5 separate regions of the Homo sapiens genome follow, and all the other regions are linked to region 2. Evidence: promoter capture Hi-C in 16 types of primary human blood cells and fetal thymus (Javierre and others, 2016). All regions are on one chromosome and are shown on one strand. The core of a region is centred on a gene start or on the middle of the fragment in contact, and the rest is flanking DNA. Distances in the headings are between cores, read along the strand shown.

What was found. Contacts are between HindIII fragments. The CHiCAGO score rates a contact against its expected background, and 5 or more counts as called.
Region 1: a fragment that was not itself captured here is called in contact with the fragment with the promoter of TSPAN3 in region 2 in 5 of 17 cell types (naive CD8 T cells, naive CD4 T cells, total CD8 T cells and 2 more); the score reaches 7.1 in naive CD8 T cells.
Region 3: a fragment that was not itself captured here is called in contact with the fragment with the promoter of TSPAN3 in region 2 in 1 of 17 cell types (total CD8 T cells); the score reaches 5.4 in total CD8 T cells.
Region 4: a contact is called between a fragment that was not itself captured here and the fragment with the promoter of TSPAN3 in region 2, in 4 of 17 cell types (naive CD4 T cells, activated CD4 T cells, naive CD8 T cells and 1 more). The highest score is 7.2, in naive CD4 T cells.
Region 5: a fragment that was not itself captured here is called in contact with the fragment with the promoter of TSPAN3 in region 2 in 7 of 17 cell types (naive B cells, M0 macrophages, naive CD8 T cells and 4 more); the score reaches 7.2 in naive B cells.

What each region holds. Positions count from the first base shown.
Region 1 is chr15:77,456,820-77,459,519 of GRCh38, forward strand. It overlaps HMG20A (high mobility group 20A), which reads left to right. Exons shown (of 10, transcript NM_001304504.2): 2 at 1,585-1,677. The coding sequence starts at 1,589. Among named protein-coding and RNA genes, the nearest start is that of HMG20A, 37 kb to the left of the region's middle. The HindIII fragment of the contact is 878 bases long and covers 849-1,726 here.
Region 2 is chr15:77,069,780-77,072,479 of GRCh38, forward strand. TSPAN3 (tetraspanin 3) reads right to left here and starts at 1,330. Exons shown (of 7, transcript NM_005724.6): 1 at 1,113-1,330. The coding sequence starts at 1,175. RefSeq lists a silencer at 797-1,496 and an enhancer at 1,637-1,696. The HindIII fragment of the contact is 12,417 bases long and covers 194-2,700 here.
Region 3 is chr15:77,440,536-77,443,235 of GRCh38, forward strand. All of the region lies in intron 1 of HMG20A (high mobility group 20A), which reads left to right. Among named protein-coding and RNA genes, the nearest start is that of HMG20A, 21 kb to the left of the region's middle. The HindIII fragment of the contact is 191 bases long and covers 1,350-1,540 here.
Region 4 is chr15:77,481,126-77,483,825 of GRCh38, forward strand. HMG20A (high mobility group 20A) reads left to right here. Exons shown (of 10, transcript NM_001304504.2): 10 at 1,845-2,700. Among named protein-coding and RNA genes, the nearest start is that of HMG20A, 62 kb to the left of the region's middle. The HindIII fragment of the contact is 1,601 bases long and covers 456-2,056 here.
Region 5 is chr15:77,502,758-77,505,457 of GRCh38, forward strand. It overlaps a transcript of HMG20A not described here. Among named protein-coding and RNA genes, the nearest start is that of HMG20A, 83 kb to the left of the region's middle. The HindIII fragment of the contact is 1,107 bases long and covers 729-1,835 here.

The DNA.
Region 1 (2,700 bases), core at 38-2,537, 390 kb after region 2:
TGTATTGTATAATGTGAATTAAAACTTAAGTACACTTGAGTCAGGGTTATTCAGTAAAACATGTGGAATGGAATTTTGTGGTATTTATTAGAGCTATTCCACTTGTAAACACCTTATCTTGAAGGAACTGAAAAGAGGTTGCAAGCATTCCTGCAGTAGAATAAAGTGCTTATGATGGTTGAGTGAGAAGTTCCTCTCTACCTTCCATGCTCTACCTACTGTAATGGGTAATATTTGTACAGAGATGTGTTTTTCCCATCAAGCTGTTTATGGAACTTGGCCTGCTAAATAATAAACTTAGAAGTGAGAATAAGTAAGAATAAGGAATAAAACATCAGTGTTATCTTTTGGAAATAAATCACTCCATTGAACATGGAGAATGTGGTCCTCGTGTCATCGGCATTTTCTTCATATTTCCACCTCAGTGGAGTGATCCTGGCTCTGCTTTGCCGCTGTGCTTTCCTTTTAATTGCTGTTTCACCAGGTCTCCTTAGCAGCAGCAGCGCCTGAAATAACTCCTGAGGAAGCTCCTAAGTGAATTCTCATAATTTGCTTCTCAATTCTCCCAATTGATTGAGGCACTCTTTCTTGAGTGCTTTGCAGTTCTGTGTAAGTGGCTGATGTTTGGGGTCACTGCTGAATGTTTTGTTTGAATATCCCTTTCATGATGAAGGGAAGACTGCTGCTTTTAACTACATGGGGTGATGCCCTTTGTGGTAAGCCTTGAAAGGCAAAAATCGTTTTTCATAGTGATATGCCAAATGAAATTATTCTCTTTGTCACTTTGTCCTTTTATCCTTTCAGTCTGATAACCTCAGTTCTTGTGATTTGTTTGTTTTCTTCAATTAAGCTTAGTTGTTTCCTGTACCCAGGTGCATGCTATTTCTGCTCTTGGTTATGATGGTGTGTGGAGCATATTTCTGACCTGGAAGTGTGGTTTCTTTGACTGAGAGCCACATCAGCATGCCTTCCATCCTCTACTTCCTTTGCATTATTTCCTTTTGGAGGGCTCAGTTTGCCATCATTTAATCTATAGATGATTCATCTGGGACTGAGAACTGGTAATGCTGTAATAACAATATCTTTCTTTATATAATACTCAATGCACTTACTACCTTAGATTTTCTCTGTTTATGGAGCACTTTCATTTTAATCTCTCACAATAACCCTTTGGGTTAAGTCAGCAATTTTGTCTTAGTCTAAGATGGTGAAATTGTAGCTCAAAGAGCTTAAATAGCTTGCTCAGAGTGGCAGTGCTTCTGAGTTACCCTGCTTAACAATTTCTACAGGAAATGAATACTTTTGAAGATACTCTGGATAAATAAAAAGGAATTTTCCAAACCACATCCCATTTGTTAAAACCTAACTTGTTTTCAGTCTGGTCAGTTGATAAGACCAAGGTTAAAAGGCCCATTTACCATACAGTTTAAATTGATGTGTCCAAGTCAAGAAAATAAATATTTAGGTCAGTTTTTATTCTGTTGCTTATATGATAAAGTTCAAGAAGGCTGGCTCTTAAATTAGTGGAACTTGAAATGGAAGTAATTAAGCCATTAATTTTTTTTTATTCTCTTTTCCTTTCAGAGAGATGGAAAACTTGATGACTAGCTCCACCCTACCGCCCCTTTTTGCAGATGAAGACGGTTCCAAGGAGAGTAATGATCTGGCTACCACTGGGTAAGCAGCTGCTTTAGGACACTGGACTTCTCCATAGGCCTCAAAACAAAGCTTCTAGCAAAGTAAGAGGTCCTAAAGAGGCAGTTTTATATCATAAGAATAGACGGTGCACTTGTTTCACTTTGCAAAGAGAGTGACAGCCATCATAAACCACTTTGTAATCTGCATTCAATTATCTTTTGCAGTGCTCTGGTTTTTGTGAACTGGTACAACAATATGTGGAATCTAGCAAACACTGGTGACTCCAGTTAAGAAAATTATATAGTCACCATTAAGGAAATACCTGCCACAGAGCTAGCTCTAAAAAACAAATGCATTTTTTCTGTTCAAATTACCACAGATATTAAAATAGTTTTTTCCCAAAGATCAGATTTTTTAATGTGGTTCTTTATTCAAGATGCTTAGTAACTTTAGCTGACTTCTGTTCCTTTCCCCATCCCACCCCCTTCTCCTTTCTGTGGGATCTTTTGACAAATATTTAAAGAGATATAGAAAAGGGTTAATAACAGTAGTCCACCTCTTCCCTTGAAAATCTCTGTTCCACTTGAATTTTTATCTTTTCTAGATGTTTAGAAGTTATTTGGCAAAGAGAAAGTGTGTTCACTAATAGACTGAAGTGCTAGCTAATCCCTAAGATGAATTATTTTAATATTCTTTAGAGCTGTTTAAAAAATAGGCTATACTTTGTAATTCTGTTTCCTTCCCTCACATTTATGTCTCACCTCGTTGATATCCGCCTTTGACCTCACTACTCAGATGAAAGTGTTCTCCAAGACTTTTCTAAAGGCTGCTTAGTTACTATATTCATTCAGTAAAAACTTTCTGAGTATCTGCTATGTGTCATTGTTCCAGGCATTAGATAGAAAGCATTGATCAAAATAGATAAAAATCATAGGCCTTTTAAAGTTCAAATTCTACTTGTTGAGTCAGACAATAAACAGGATAAATAAGCAAAACATATACTATGTTGATAAGAACTATAGTTTAAAAAAAGAAAAAAGTGGAGAAAAGGGATAGGAAGGG
Region 2 (2,700 bases), core at 80-2,579:
AGGAGGAAGAGGCACAGTATGGTTAACCGGAATGTTCAAGGAGTGCTCTGGCGACTGTGGACAGAGCAATCTGTCCAGGGCACTCAAGTGTTTAAGGAAATGACAAGTTCAGAGAGGCAAGGTGATTTGGGACCAGACTGAGGACTTCTGCTCCAAGACCAGGGGAAGGAGTTGAACCTTATTCTACCGCTGAAGCTTCTGTTTTCCTTATTTTCAGATCAAGTGATGTGATAGAGGAAACGTTTTAAAAGATTTATCCGGGTGCAAAGTCCAGATGGGCTGGAGGGTGGAGAGACGGATAGGAACAACTTAGGTTACTATAAAAGTCCCTGATGAGATAAGGACCCAAACTAAGATGACATAAACATTCCTTTCAAAGAGGGTGTACCCCTTAAAAATTCATAAGCCACCTTTTATTGAAAGTGAACTCATCACTTTCAAAATCTTGTGACATCTCCATCATATATTTAACCAAGAGTTATAATCTCACAGTTTGGTCACCCCCATGACCAAAACAAATAGACCGATGTTCTTGGTCAATGGATTATTTGGCTCCTCGAGTTGAAACCCTTCATTTTCTGGGCTGGTGACAGTCAGCCGGTTCTCCACACACAAAGGGCGTTAAGTGGAACCCCCGCCCCGGCTCCGCAGCGTCCCCGCGGATCTGCCCGCCTCGGGACGGCCACTCGTCTGCGAGGCCCCGACAAAGAGCGCGGAACCTGAGCCTCTGGCGAAGATCCTATTTCGAGCCCGACGTCCTGCTACAGTCTGCAATAAGCGCTCTCCGTCCAGCCGGCGACTCCGGGGGGGGGAGACTGGGGCGCCTGGCACGGAGCCAGCCCGCGTGGGCCGAGCGCGGAGGCGCCGGCTGGAGGCCGTGGAGTCCCTGAAGGCCTCCCCTCGCTGTCCTCCGCGCCCAGGCTCCCGGCTTGGTCCGGCAGGGACCTCGCGAAGCGGCCTCACACCCGGCCCTCCCCTCGCCTCAGCCGCCTGAGGGCCCGCGCGCGGCCCCCGCGCGCCCGCCCAGGCCCAAGCCCGGCCCCCACGGGCGCCTCCGCCGCGGCCTCGCCCGGCCCCGCCGCCGGCCCCTCGCTCTGCCCGGCCCCGCTCACCCAGAAGATGAGGTTGAGAAAGACCAGCACGGTCTTGGAGGAGGTGATGCCGCACTGGCCCATGGCGCCGGTGGCCCGCGAAGGCCCGGCCCGGAGAGCGGGGCTGCGCTCACCGAGAGAGCGGCAATGGCGGCGGCGCCTCCTCGCTAGGAACTGCACGGCCTGCGCGGCGCTCCCCGCAGCCCCTGCGCCGTCGCGCAGCCCCGACCCCAGCAAGTGCCTCGCTCCTCCGCGCAGCCGCCGCAGTCCCCTCAGGGCTCCCGCGCCGCTCCCTGGCAACCGAGTCCCGCCCCACGCGGCCGGTAGCTTCAGCCAATCGCCTCTGCGGAGGCTGCAGTGAGGCCACGCCTCTTAAAGGAGCCAAGGCCTCAGCGCCTTTTCTTGGCCTCTGGCCGCCCTTGGACGCAGATGGCTCCCTAGGGAGGTTCTGGTGGACCAAACCCACTCTCCTCCTATGACTATGCCACCCTTATAGATGATTCAGAGCCCTCTGAGTGCTATCTTTCTACCTAGCCCATTCTCCCCTAGGAAGGTTGGAGACACTAATCTCTGCCTGACCAGATTCTCCTGACCAGGTTAAAATCTTGGCAGCACTGTTGGTGAGAAGTGCAAAGAAAAACAACAAATACTTATGGAGAAACTTATTGTACCAGGCGCTGGGCTAGACCTCAGAAGAGTCAGAGAGGAGAAAAGGCTGGTGATGGCGTTAGCAAGGCAGAGACATGTTTGTGTGGGTGAGTGGTTGGGAACAAGTTCTATTCCAGGGTAGTAAGTTTTGGACCAAGATTCGCAACGATTACAGAAACATCTCTTTGCATTGCAACATTTCACATTCTTCCCCCAATCTTGAATCCGTCATAGCAATTAATTATTGGGTGCTCACCCGGTGCCAGGCTCCATTAGTTCATTTAACCCCCACCACAACCCTGGATGGAAGGCACTATGGTTATCAGCCTCATTTTACTGATCGGGTAATTGAGGCTTAGAAAGGTTAAGAAGTTCGCCCAGAGCCACACATAGTAAGTGGTCTAGTGCAAAAAACACATCATCAGTCACACAATAAACTGCCTCTGTTTGCTGTCTTTCCTGCCATTATAATCCTGCACTCCCTCCTTGACCGCGCCCGTAAGGATTTCCATTTACTGGTCTTTATCAGCTCGCTCTCATGCAATCTCCCCCACTCATCACCTTTCCCAGGCACTCTCAGAAGTACCTGTTAATCTCAGCATCCTGTGCATTTACACCAAGCAGCAGCAACAGCCATTTATTCACTCATCAAACTTGCCGCGTGTCCCCTCTGGGCCTCACTGTTGTCGGTGGTGGATATTCCACTGTGAGCAAGACGTATCCTTCCTTCCATGGCTTACATTCGTTCGGGCAGAGGAGGCAGACCATAAACAAACGGGCAAGTGGGTATATGACATGAGGTAGTGTTAGGAAACAATTCAGAGGAAAGGAATAGAGTGATGAGAGGAGTCCTCTCTGAGGAGAGAACATTGGAGGGGACCCAAGGGAGGTGAGGGGAACAGCCCAAAGATGAGAGCAGCAAGGACAAAGGCCCAGAGACCGGAACATGATCACTGTGCTG
Region 3 (2,700 bases), core at 195-2,694, 370 kb after region 2:
GTGGCTTTCTTTTCTCACTTATGCTATTTGTCCAAAGTGAGTCAACATGGGGCTATGCTATTTGTGGTCACTTAGACAACCAGGCGGATGTAAACTACATTATAATATATACTTCCACAGTCACTGTATTCAGGGGAAGGAAACATGGCAAATTGCTTATAGACTCAGATTTTCTGCCCAGAAGAATCATATGTCACTCACTTTCATTGCCCATGAGTTACATGGTCCTTGTGTCTTCTCTGAGGCAGTGAGGAAGTTTCCTCTTATGTTTCTGAAAGGAGATCTAAATATTTTTGAATAGCCATAGTGACTATCACAGTAAACATTTGTAAGTTACTTAACCCCTCTGTGGATCAGTTTGTTCACTATAAAATAGGTGCTAATGATAATATCTACTTGATACGGCAGATGTGTGGATTAAGTGGTATCATACACGTATAGCTCTTAAAATAGTGCCTGGTACTTAGTAAGCAATAAATTCTTGCTGCAATTATTGCTATCATTATTGTTATTAGGCTCTTACTATATGATGACACCATACTACCTGCTTTATTTACACAGATTACTTCTTGAGATAACTTCTATATAGTATGTACTATTACTCTTCTCATTTATAGGATAAGAAAACCTTGGTTTGGAGCTTTTGACTAGCTTGCCCAAGTTCCACAGCTAATACGTAAAAGATGAGATTGGAATCTAGGCAGTCTGACTCCAGAGCCCTCAGTATAAACTGAGACTCCCTCCCAGATAGCAAATAAATATGAACAGAATTCAGAAGTGCATACCATGCTTAGAGAACTCTGTGTTTGTTTGTGTACATATATGTTTATGGTTGTGATTTTATATTGAATTTTTAATATATTCCTATTTTCTGCTAGTTTGTTAGTGTTTCTAGTTCATATAATTAAATATACTGTTTCTCAGTATTCTATGTAGTCTGACAGCTAAACAAATTTGAAGTTGATTTTGTTCTTCATGAACAGGTGAAAAAACTTGAGCCAGAGTCATTTAGTGATCCCAGAAACCAGTTAGTTGGTAGTATATCCTGAACTCAAAGTCAGATTTCCTGACTTCGATTCAGAGCTCTTCCTACTGCCTCAGGTTGTCTCCTTGTAGTTTATGCAGCATATCATCCTTTATCAAATATTTGAGATGCTTTTTGTCTCCAAATTTTGAGTGAATTTGTTGTAGAAATCACAGTTAAGCTTTTTTTCCCTCATAGCTCACATTACTACATCTTGATTGTAATTTATCAACTTTGTCTTTTAAATATTCTAATGTTACTAAACACCCAGGGCCAAATTAAATATTTGGACAGAGTTTCTAGTAAGAATAAATGCCTCCAGAGAAGCTTCTGTGGAAAAATATTGTAATGATGAGCTTGAGAGTACCAATAACTTTTCTTTTTCGTGTAAGGCAATTTAGAGTCCAATTTCTGAAGGCACAGAGATGCCAGTGGAATTAGAGATGAATCAAACACATTACATTTTAGGTTTATCTTAAGGTATATTGGCAAGAAGTAAAACAACAACTTACCAAAAGCTTGTTACTTTTCCTGCCAGTGACATAAGAATGTACATATAACAACCTCAGATATATTGTAATTTTCAGAGTTAAACCTCTTAAGGAAATGCTGAGCTCATTTTCCTGGTCTGTTTTCCCATAATTAAATGGTATTCTTGTTTGATAATTTCAGTGTATTTTCATGTAACTTATCTGGAAAGTTAATAGGACATAAATTGAGTTAGAACTTCTCAATATATTGCTATATAGTGGAGATATTCAATAAGGAAGTCACAACACTTTTTTCCCCTCAGTATCAAAATATGTCAGTTATCTGTCAAGAAAATGAACTGAATCTGTGCTGTGTGTTATTGCACTCATGGGGAAATACTGTTTTGAGGCTACATGATCCTTGTCCTGGCCTCGTGCAATTTAAAACATTAATTCTTGTGTTAAAATAAATACTGCTTTATAAAACTGACTGCAGAATTTAAGGGAATTTTTAATATAAAGCATGAGGTTTATAAATTGTGCCCTTACTCTCCCTGCTAGACATGCGTACTCTTCTCTGCCCTATAGTCCTAATTCTGATGAGAGAGAGAAAGAATATATCATTAGCAACTATCTTTAAGGCATCTTTCAGCAATAAGCTAGAAACTCCTTGTTTGTTTGTTTTTGAGATGGAGTCTTGCTCTGTCACTCAGGCTGGACTTAGAAATCCTTCTAATGGTGTTTTTCTGGAAAGGGGAGTATGGAGAGTCTGGCAAAAAGGGAATTTTAGCTCTACGTGTAGCCATATTTTTTTTACAAAAAAGAAACTAAGTATTGCATGTGAAATTAAAATTTAATTTTAAAACATCTGTGATCCTTGATGGCACTTTTCCTCTTTCTTTAAAGTAACAAAACCATACTGCTGAAGGTTGAGTTTAAAACAAAGATTGGAAAGTAATTATTCATAATTTCACCACCCTGACATAACTACTTTGAACTTTTTTTTTTTTTTTTTTTTTTTGAGACAGAATCTCGCTCTGTAACCCAGGCTGGAGTGCAGTGGTGTGATCCCTCATCACTGCAACCTCCACCTCCCAGGTTTAAGCGATTCTCCTTCCTCAGCCTCCAGAGTAGCTGGGATTATAGGCTCCTGCCACCATACCGGGCTAATTTTTGTATTTTTAGTAGAGACAGGGTTTCACCATG
Region 4 (2,700 bases), core at 6-2,505, 410 kb after region 2:
AGGCAGAAGTCTTTATACTTCTTGGTGATGCCCTTGGATGGTAACTGTACAAGGCAATGCATTATATTTTAGCCTCAGCCATGCTCTGATGGGGAAAGGATTACTATCCTTCTAGGGAGTAGCCAGATGGAATGGACTGTACTTCTTAGAGATGGCTGGACTCCCTGCAGAATAAAGAAGTGGCATTACTGCTGCTGCTTATGAAGGGAACAGCTTGTAAATCTAGGCCTGGGATATTCAGGAGCTCATCATCCTTCCCATTTTCGTACAGTGTTTTCAATTAGCACTCTTGTAGGCTTGAAAAGTGAGAGCTGGGAGAAACAGTGTGGAAGATTGTGAAAGAAAACATTAATTGATAACATCGTGTCTCTTCACATAGATACAGGGCAGCTAATTAAGTATTGACCCAAAAGTGGTTTTCCATTTTGAGCATTTTGCCAGTAAGACTCTCCTAAAGCTTTTTTCATCTCAAGAGTATAAACTATATTATTTGTTTTCTGATGAGTCTTTGAAAACTTAGAATATTACTATTATCCTTGATTTTAACCTACAAATATTTTGCCCCTGAAAAAATAGCTAAAAGTGTGAACTGTTATATTACTACAGATTCTTACAGTCTAGCCATGCAAACATAACTAACAATAGATGGTTCCCCACACCCCCAAAACTGTCAAAGGAAACAATTACAAAGACTGTGATTAATACTGGTTTGGCCTCATTATACAAATATGTACAGACAGCGAGGCTGATGTCCCCAGCACTCATGATGCAATTAATTACTCTGACAAGAGTTTGGCAAAGTTTTCATCCACTGTCAGGAGCCAGTGAGTGAAGGGAAGCTAATGGTCTACAAGTTTCAGAGGAGCATATTAGGGACCTTTAGAAATCTAACATTTTATATATGAAGAAACTGAATCCCAGAGAGGAGAAACATCTTGCTTGAAAATATCTGCGTAGATGAGTACAGAATCCAAGACTAGAACCACAGATATCTAAACTCTCTCATTCACTGGGTTTCTAAAACATTGCTCTAAGGAAGAGGTGGATGGGGGAAGGGGAAAGCACTAAAAAATCCTGAAATAGAGCATTAAGATACATAGGAAGTAAACAGATAAAAATTGTAATCCAGGAATTATAATGTTATAGAATTTTAGCTCATTTTAAAATTATTTTGATAAATATACAGTGGAAGAATTACCCTACCTGTCTGTCACCTTTCTTGTAGCTGAGTAGTACCTAGAGACAAGTGGAGCTAGGAGGAGGCCATGAGGGTGATTTTAAGTTGAAAGGTGACTACCTTATATAAACTATTAAAATGCATATGTTGCCTGATTTCAATGATAATATTTGGCTGTTTGAGTTTAGGGAAAAAAAATCTTATGTGACTGTATTTTTATTAATATGAGAAATGTTCTTGATTATATGCACATAATACATCTCTATACATGCAGATATCCTTAGTTAACACTTGAAGAAAATTGGTTTTGATTGACCATACATTCTTCAGACTAAAGTAGGGTACTCATTTTCCCTCCTCAGGTTTGTCCCTGATAGTTGCTTTTCTGTGTTTAGCTGATGATTTTCCTACCTCCCATTGTTGCTGAACTGGAACAGGGCCATGTTTCTCATTGAAATGTTATGTAAAACATCTCAATGAGGTTGCCTGCTTACAGCTTTATGAGTTCTTCAGTTTACATACACCCTGCACTCACTTTAACGCTTATGAAACCAAAGCATTTTTAAAATCCATAGCGCTAACCCCTTCCATTCAATACTTACTTTCTTGGTGTTATTTTCCTTGTTTGTTTTTGTTTTTGTTTTGTTTTGTTTTCCTGATTCTACAGGTCTTAGAACTCCAAGATGTTCCATAAGTGTTTTTACTTGTGAGGAATGAGAAGCCATCCATGGAAATTTGAACTGAGTGGGGGCAGAGAAAGAGTGCAGATCCCTTTGCTTGTGAAAGAATTATCAGTGAGTGAAAGGCCATCACCCCAGGAAGCCAAATGAGGGAGCAGCAACATGTATATGAGCTTCCTATGGAATTGTCCTTATGTGAAGCTTTGAAGGTGTACAGCCACTCTCCCGGGTCTTCAGGTTCCTACCATTTCCATTTCTGTTAAAGTGGATCTGCATATCTTCAGCTTACTAGGTGACCCGGATGCTGACATCTGCTGCTGCAGAAAGGAAGACTTTTCATTGTAATTTCGCTTAGACCCTTTTATCAGTGGAGCTCCAGTTTTCTTACCTAGCTGTCACTTTTTTAAATGCCTCTGGGGGTTATTTTTGCTTTCCTTGGCCCCCACCAATTTATACATCTCCATTTTCTGACCTCTGGACTAACTGGTTGCTCAGCAAGGTTCTGAAGGAGAGTTTCTTGCATTGGACAGGCCCAGTCTTCTCCCATCATTGCCCTGCTGTGACTCCAAAGAAAGGAGCTTCTTGCTGACAGTGCCCTGTGGAGCAAGGCTGTGTTTCCTACCCCACACGGTGCTCAGTGGGTGCCAGCCCTCAGTGTGGCTTTGTGATTGCTGCCCTAAAGGAGAATGCTCTTTCCTTCCTCACTGGTACTGCCTGCTGTTTTCTAAGCATTGCTCCTGCACAGACATGGAGTCCCAGCCCCAGCAAGGCTCTTCTGTTCCCATCTGTTGACAATGTCTTGTGGAGCATTTTTGCTGAGGAAAAGGTCACTTGTAAACAGAG
Region 5 (2,700 bases), core at 32-2,531, 430 kb after region 2:
AGGAGTTTGAGACCAGCATGGGCAACATAGTGAGACCCTGTCTCTACAAAAAATAAAAAAAAATTAGCCAGGCGTGATGGCATGCCCCTGGAGTCCCAGCTACTCAGGAAGCTGAGGTGGGAGGATCATTTGAGCCCAGGAGTTCAAGGTTGCAGTGAGCTAGGATCCCACTGGACTCCAGGCTAGGCAACAGAGTGAAGCCCTGTCGCAAAAACAAAAGCAAAACGAACAACAAAAAAATCAGTGTTGATGTACTCCTTTCTGAGTGGTTTCATCTTTCCTGACAATCCCCTATTTAACTCTGAAAAACAGCCATCTACTTATTTGCTTAGGTATTCTTTTTTAAGGAAGATGCAACTTCTATCCAGCCTCCCTCCAGTTCATCCCCATGAAGTGCTGAAGACAAAGCATAGATAGATAAGTTGCAAGAACAACTTTACACAACTGCTAGAGCTTATGGGGAGAGGGGGCAGTGAGATGGAACTGGGCTGGACTCCAGTCCCAGCTCAGTCACTGATAGCAAAATCTGGTATCAAAACCATCAGTTTTGCTATTTCACCTGTCCTTCCTCAGTTTCATCATCTGTAAAATTGTTGACTGAAAGTTGAATGTCTGCTCAATCAAAGGAGTCCCTCAAATCCTTTCCAGCTCCAAAACCTGAGGATCCTGTTTTTCCTGTAAGCCCTCAGGGTGGTGAAAATTCCCAAGCTTACCTCCTGAAAGAGGCAAGCTTGTCAACCCTAGCTGACCCCACTTGAGCCCTCTCCTCAGGAGATGCTCTCTGATGCTTATTCCTTATGTAAGCAGTGCAGCCACCCTAGGGGAGAGGCATTATATTCCCACTTGGCAGACCCAGAAAATGAGACCCAAAGAGGAGAAGTGATTTGCCCGAGCAGGAGAGCATGTCACACGATTCTAGGGGTGCTGCTCACACCCTGGTCAGTGGTGCTCCCTCGGATCGTAATACACCAGCGATTCTCCAACTTGGGTCTTTAAATCACCAGAGGATCTCGTTAAAACAGATTTTGATTCAGTCACTCTGGGGTAGGGCCCAAGAGTCTGTATTTCTAACAAGCTCGCCTGTGATATGTATGCTCCCGGTCTCTGGATCCCACTTTGAATAGCGAGGTAGTGCACAACCTGTACAGCTGCACATGGCAGCTGTACACACAGCTCAAAAGCAGCACAGCGGGGACTTAAATTTAGGTCTTTGGACTCAAAGTCCAGTGTCCTCTATGCTGAGCCAGAATTTTGCAAAAAGCACCTCTACTCTGGGCATATGAGTGCCTGGGGATCTGGAGGAGATTTGATAGGGAAAAAAATATCTTTAGTAAAAGAGAAACAAAGTCCTGCCTTTGCTGACCAAGAGTCCTCAGCCGAGGCCTTCTGGGGCAGGCATAGATAGATGTCTGCATAAGTGGGGAGCCCTGTGGGAACAAGAGGAAATCAAGGGACCCCACACCTAGCCTAGTGGCAACCTGGGGTCCAGAGGAAGGAGGAAAGGCAGCTGGGCTCTTTGTCTGCCGCTCCCAGAGTGGCTAATGAGCAGGGCGTTCTTCCTTGCAGGTGCTGAGAAGTGGGATGAGGCTTGTAAGGAGACAGAGTACCAAGCTGCAGTCTGGGAGGCCTTAATTCCTAGAGTTCTCCCTGCCACAGCTGAGCTGGCTCAGGGCCCATTTCTGTTTGCTTGGAACAGTCTGACATTTTGTAAGGAACCCTTTGCGCGGGGTGCGCCTTCTGGCCTCTCAAGGGTAATTGCCCAAGAGAAGCAGGTGCTCCCCGCTGGGGCTGGAGTTTCCGTTGGGGAAATCAACCTGACATAATGTACTGGGGAAAGCTTTGTACACTATAGAGAGCTATGCAAATACCAGCAGTCCTGGGGTGGAAGGAGGGCCTGCAGCAAGGGGCAGCACTGGAGGACCGCTGGAGGGGCAGCGCTGAAAGATGGGCTTCTGTTGGAGATGCCTGTGAGGCCTTGGGGGAAGTTGGCAGCAGAGAACTGGGCGTTACAAATGGGGGGATGCAAAGGGCAGTGAGCTTGCAGGTGGGAAACTGGGCTTCAGTGCTGGCCCCGCCACTCACCAACTTCAGATAAGTTTCTACAGTACTCTGAGGCTCCATCATCTCCTGTGTCTATGAGGCAATGAAGCAATAGGGGCCATGACATGTCTGCTGTATTATTGTGGGATTTTAGCGTCCTTGGGGGTGCCTGGCACAGTGTATGTTAGTTGACTCACTGAGGTTCGGGGTCATATGTGGCAGACCCCTGAGCACTGAACAGGGGATGTGAACACCTGTTTGGACACAGAATCCTGGACTGGCCTTGATCAAACGCCTTCCTCTCTTGAGGCCTTGGTTTCCCCCATGTGAATAGGAGGAAGAAGTGGAGTGACTGCCCACAAGTGCCCTTCCAGCCCTGGACCTGTGCTCCAGATGGCTGCACGTCCTGGCCAGCAATGCATGAGTTGGGACGTCCACTCTGAGGCTTTGCCTCATCGACAAGGCTGAAGCAGGCAGAGATTTCCAGGTTCGAGGTAAAGGGCCTCAGCCTCAGCTTGGGCAGCTTCCCAGAGCTGATGCAGCTCAGACACATCTTTCCTAGGACATCTTCTTCAGTCAGGGGACTCAGGATGGCCCAGTCACCAGATGCCCAGCTGGACAGAGCAAGACCCTGGCAAGGTCGTGTAGGGACAGCATGCT